2 separate regions of the Homo sapiens genome follow, and region 2 is linked to region 1. Evidence: promoter capture Hi-C in 16 types of primary human blood cells and fetal thymus (Javierre and others, 2016). All regions are on one chromosome and are shown on one strand. Each heading gives the region's core, a stretch centred on a gene start or on the middle of the fragment in contact. The rest is flanking DNA. Distances are from core to core; before and after follow the strand shown.

Region 1 (2,892 bases), core at 8-2,507:
GAAGTTTCTAGGGACTATTGTCAGAAGAGCTGTAGTATATTTACGTAATTTTTAACCAGACATAGCTTCTGTTTAGGTTAAAAATTCTTGATTATCCAGAAGACTCTCCTCACTTTTTACATAAATTTGTGCTAGCATTTAAGTTCTATAGATATAATTATATTGGACTGATCATGGAGCAAGTTTAAATCAGCAAAATCACATAATTTCAGATAGATAAAAAGAAATATAATGTTATTGCTTTCAAGGGCTAAAAAGGTGTTGAGAAGTGCTTATTATTTTTAACTTAATTTAATAAATAATTAAGAATGGCTTGCAATTAATTTAGTTAATGATATATGCAACAGTTTGAAAATTTTGTTTCCTTCATACTTAAAAATAAATCTCATATATTTACTCTTTACTTGCTTTACTCACAAACACTATAAATCAAAAGTTCAGCTATCTTCTGCCCAATTGTCACAAATTTCAAATTATTAGCATGTCTGCAATTTATTTTTGAAATATAAAAACTTTTACTCTAAAACAATATATAAGTATCCTTTTCCCAGAGTGGGAGCCAACCTGTTTGTGACAATATCCAGCAAAATCACCATAGGGTTCACCTTCATTCTTCTGGATATGGATACCATTTTCCCTAGCTTACCTCAGCCAAAATGTTTAATATAGAGTTTAAATTTTAATCTCCCATTATTCCTCCTAAGTATAATTGCTACTCTGTGAATTGCCATTACTGGCATGGCTATAGAATTAGATCATTACATGGAGACTCACGTTGTTACTAGGTGTTATTTAGCTTCAATCTCCCTACTTATTCTCTCTGGGAACCGACTTAAGTCATTACTGGGTCTTGGTGCTGCACAGACATAAGCTCAAGGTTATTGTTCACAAAAAATAGTTAAAAGTAAAATTATCTATTTGTTAAAAGCCAAATAATTATTAATGTTCCTGGGAAAGATAGTATAGAAAGTTTAAAGGAAACATCTTTCCTAATAATATTAATGACAAATTGCATGGAAGAGAAATATGTACTTACGGTTTCCTTTGGAAATTGCTCCATTTTTCCTAAAGGTTTAGAACCTGGCAAGATAAAATGTGTCAGAGAGAGAGAGAGAGAGAAATAATTCAAATGGAACTGTCCAGTCGAATTCAAATAGAAATATAGAAACGTTAAGTATGTGGGGGAAAAAAAAAAACCTCTTGCTTGGTCCTAGAATCCCATCAGCCATACACAATCGACATTATCTTTAGAAGACATACTCAGCTGAGGCAACTGCTAAGTTTTACAGATACTGGGTGACTCAGCAGTTTTGGGAGGCTCTGGCTTTCAAAGTTACTCAATAAGACTTAAAAAATGAAAGTAAGGTTTTTGGATGAAAAATTAGAAAAAAAACCCCATATATTTATAGGAAATACAGCTCAACAACTTCATCCAACTCAACTGCAGATTTTTCACAGTCTTTAAGTCAACGAATTATCCTGGCTTTTTCTAGAGAGTCTTTCACAAAATAAGATTTTATTCCTAACCTCAACAATTTGGTCTTTAAAAATCTGATTTAGTTGTACTCTTAATCATTTAAATGGAAGGAACAAAAAAAGTTATATGATGTGTTCATTAATATTTTGTAAAACAAAAATTAGGATACCTTATTTGACAAACCAATGATGTCACAAAAAAGTTGAAAATATGGCTGACTTCTGATATATATGGTATAAATCATCCTACTGTATGTATTAATTTTAATGGAGAACAAAAAGAGGTAGACTTTTTCCATAGGCATAGTTATTTTAGACTAACTTACAAAAATGAAACAAACAAGCAAAAAGAAAATAGTGGGATGCTCTTAGACCTTTCTACAAGCCAGTGGGGCTATCCATGCCAAACTTCATTCCAGTGTAAATGCAGCTTGAATAATCTAACTTCCATGATCTACAAGAGAAGATTTTGATTCTACATTTGTGGTTTCCCCTGTTCTTGGATCTCACATAGAAAAACTGAGAGTCCTTTACATTCTCTTCTTGAAAGTCTGGATTACTTTACTTTTCCATATAGTTTCATTATATTCAAGTCAAATTTAGTAGTAAAGGCAGGAACATAATTTTAGAGACTGCACTATAACACATGCACTGAGGAATATTTGTCTGAAGTTGGGATAAGGAGAGGAAATTATTTTATCTTTAAGAGAAAAGAATCAACATCTATGAAATATTTATATATTAACATGATCAATTTACATTAATTTCTAATCTTTAAAAATTCTGTGAGGCAGGTATTATCATACCCGTCTTTATGTGAGAAAACAGTCCCTAAAAAACAAAGTTTCATTCTATGGTGATTTGGTTTGAAAGTATTTAAATAGTCAAATCCATATCAATATGATTATCATGGCACTCTGCTCCTTATTTTTTTAGTCAATCTTCTCTTAGTCCATCAACATTATTTGTTCTGTTTCCCTGTTCCAGAATCATCTTAGCAAGAATGCCAAACATGTGATAACCTTGTGACCAAAGAAATAGTATGGCCCATTGTGAATAGTGCCACAATATACATATGTGTGCATGTGTTTTTATAGTAGAATGATTTATAATCCTTTGGGTATATAGCCAGTAATGGGATTGCTGGGTCAAATGGTATTTATGGTTCTAGATCCTTGAGGAATTGCCACACTGTCTTCCACAATGGTTGAACTAACTTACACTCCCACCAACTGTGTAAAAGCATTCCTATTTCTCCACATTGTCTCCAGCATCTGCTGTTTCCTGACTTTTTAATGATCGCCATTCTAACTGGCATGAGATGGTATCTCATTGTGGTTTTGATTTGCATTTCTCTAATGACCAGTTATGATGAGCTTTTTTTCATATGTTTGCTGACTGCATAAATATCTTCTT
Region 2 (3,092 bases), core at 137-2,636, 150 kb after region 1:
TGTCTGCTAACTGATACCATTCATTTGACAATTCAGAGTTATGATACTTTGTAGTGCACCCACTGTTCTTCACAGGAAAAAAAAATTGCAGTACAAAGGGTTTATCAGGCCCCCTATCATTCCAGAGTTTCAGTGCTGTTCCAGAATGTTCAAGGTTTCAGTCATGATATGAACCAACTATCCATAAATAATGCAAAAAGCATGAGTAATCATGAATTTAATAATCAAGGTAAGGCAGCTCAGTTATTATACTCAAGAGAGCAACTAGTATGAAACTCTTTCAAATTATTTGAATAAGGATTTACATATTCATAATGACTTTCTGCCTCTGTCAAGCTCCAGGTGTATCAGTTATTAATAACTGGGTGAATATGTAGGTACTATTTAAACAAAAACAATTTCACAGTAGACCCACCCCTATCCAAGAGATGAAGTCAAGTTCTGGTAGCAATAGACATCTCTACCAAGATCTCCTGCTCCTGCCACTCTGTGAACAGGAAAGGAGGGAGAAACTTTGGTGTTTTGCCTTTCCCAATTTATATTAAGATCCTTATTCAAGCGGCTACCGGTTTCTAATGACCTATATGTAAGTTAGCTTTATAAGAAAGTTCTGAGTTTGAAACTCCTTTCAGCAAGTATTTGTAAGTCAAAAAAGCGAAGAAGAGGCACCATTTACTGTCATTTCTCCTTGTGACTGAGATTACTTACTACAAAGAGGAACTGACCACTTTCTCTGACATCTGAAATAGAAAGCTACAAAGGCTGATAGGCGTGGCTTCAAAATTGTTTCATGATTACATAACTTCTTTCTAGTTAGGAATTAGGACAGTGTAAGAAGGCCATCTACAATCAAGATTGAGAGTGGCTCTAACAAGTGCCATTTTTCCTTGTTAGCTTTCATTTCTCAGCCCTTTACAAGATTAAAATAGTCTGCAGTTTAATCTCTCCAAAGCTTTACGGACAGTGATTCTGTCCTAAACAAGACAGTGACTCCAGGATTTCTGAAGACTATTGTGGAAGAAGCATCCATTAAGGTGAGATTTCTGGGAAGTTCTTTAGAGAAAGATCTAGGTATCTAGTTGGTAACCACACCATCTCAGTAGAGAATAATTGCCTGAGACCAGAAGTGTTGTTATCAATCATATTCAGAAAACTGAGAACTGAATGCTTTAACTGTCTAGGTAGCAAATGGATATCTTTTATTCTACCACAATTGGGGTATGAACCAAAAAAATGTATTTTGTCTACAGCAGGTTTTAAAAATTAATTCTTGGGTGTCTTTTGGCATAAATTGATATTTAGAGGAGATACTTGGTTTTCTTGGCTGGAGGATGACTTGGTGACTGGGTTTGGGCCTAAGTTAAAAGACAAGACAGTCAGATAAGAAAATTATTATGAAGTAATATTTAGTAAAAAATAAACCAGGATATAAATCTCTATTATATGATTTTATCTCTATTTTAAAAAGCATAGACATGTGCACACATTAATTTCTCAATTTTACAAGCATTTACTCAAAAATAATCTTTACATTTTCATGAATCAGTTTCATTTTATGCTTCATTTTACAACAAGTGTAAGAAGAAATAATTCTCTTTTTCAAATGGTCTATGCTTTACTCAGTCATAGATAACATTTTTTGTGGCAAGGTATAATGAAAAGACAGGGAGAATCAATTATATATTTCCTACTTTGGGATACATTTTGACTTTTTTATGGCTTTGTACATATGAATGTTTTCTAATTACTCCATGAGTACTTGAGAAGAGTTTATAAACGTTGGATTCCAAATTCTATTTAAGTAAGATAAAGTTTCTTAAGTAAGCTTGTTAATTATGTTTGAAAAATCTAAATCTAAATCTAAGCTATTTTTTACCTTGTTCTTTCAGTAACTGAGAGATGTGGTGAAATCTCCAACTCTAATAGTGATTTTGTTAATTTCTCATTGTAGTTCTTTTGATTTCTACCATATATTTTTACATAGAATATGTATATCTAAGTATATATGTTATGTGTGTGTTTAGAGAGAAGAAAAAACTTCTATATGCTACTTTATAAAGTAATAACAGATTATATTTATAATATAATTTAAATTATTATATCTTTTTCCAAGTTGCATACTTTACCATTATGTAGTGAAACTATGTACTGATACTTATTGACTTAAGCCTATTTTAAGCTACACTATTTTTCCTAAAAAGTCTTTCTTTAAGTTAGAGTTTGAAGAATATAACTTTTCCAGCTCTTTCTCAAACTTAAGTGAACTTATGCTTTATTTGTACTTTGTCAACAACATATGACTGGATTTATTTTTAATCCAAATTGAAAATTTTTCCTCCTAGTTGATGAGTTTAGTCCAGATATGCAAATTCTATAAAGGTATATATTTTAACTTGGTTTTGCCATCTTACTTTGTTTCAATTTATAGCACTTATTCTGTGCTTTCTTCTTCTCCTTTCTTGTCAAGTTTCTTATTTTTAAAAAATCTATATTCTCCTTAAAGACAAGCCCCTTAGCAAACTCTCACATCTTCTGGTCCCCCAAACATACAACTTCACCTGTTAAGAGTATGTTCATATAGTTCCTGTTTTCTTTTATTTGACTCTGGCTTTACTTATTTTTAAGATAGTAAAAACACTAATTAAAGTATTTGCTTGATCTTTCTTCCCTTTTGGCCTCCAACATTTCTTAGATTTATTTCTTTTCATAATGAGTAGTTCTTCACAAAGAGCTGTGGGTATGGATATTTTCACTGCCAAGCTTCTGAAAGCTTTGAATATAATAATTGTTTTCTTTTAATTGTGTTAAGAAACATGTAACATAAAATGTGTCATCTTAATCAGCTTCAAGTGTACAGTTCAGTAGTATTAAATACATTCATATTGTTGTGCAACCAACCTCCAGAACGCCTTTGCATCTTGCAAAACTAAAACTCTAACCGTTAACCAACAATTTCACCATTCCCCTTTCCTCCAGAGCTTGGCAAACATCATTCTACCTTCTTTCCCCATAAATTTAAAAACTCTAACTCTTCATATATGTTTAATCATACAGTAAGCGTGTGCTTTTTGTGACTGGCTTTTTTCATTTCA

The links. The method cuts DNA at HindIII sites, captures the fragments that hold promoters and counts their contacts. A CHiCAGO score of 5 or more calls a contact.
Region 2: a fragment that was not itself captured here is called in contact with the fragment with the promoter of SPTA1 in region 1 in 1 of 17 cell types (erythroblasts); the score reaches 5.8 in erythroblasts.

The regions. Positions count from the first base shown.
Region 1 is chr1:158,685,458-158,688,349 of GRCh38, forward strand. It overlaps SPTA1 (spectrin alpha, erythrocytic 1), which reads right to left and starts at 1,258. Exons shown (of 52, transcript NM_003126.4): 1 at 1,037-1,258. The coding sequence starts at 1,060. The HindIII fragment of the contact is 3,907 bases long and covers 1-2,892 here.
Region 2 is chr1:158,830,524-158,833,615 of GRCh38, forward strand. It overlaps MNDA (myeloid cell nuclear differentiation antigen), which reads left to right and starts at 828. Exons shown (of 7, transcript NM_002432.3): 1 at 828-1,034. It also overlaps a transcript of OR6N1 not described here. The HindIII fragment of the contact is 873 bases long and covers 951-1,823 here.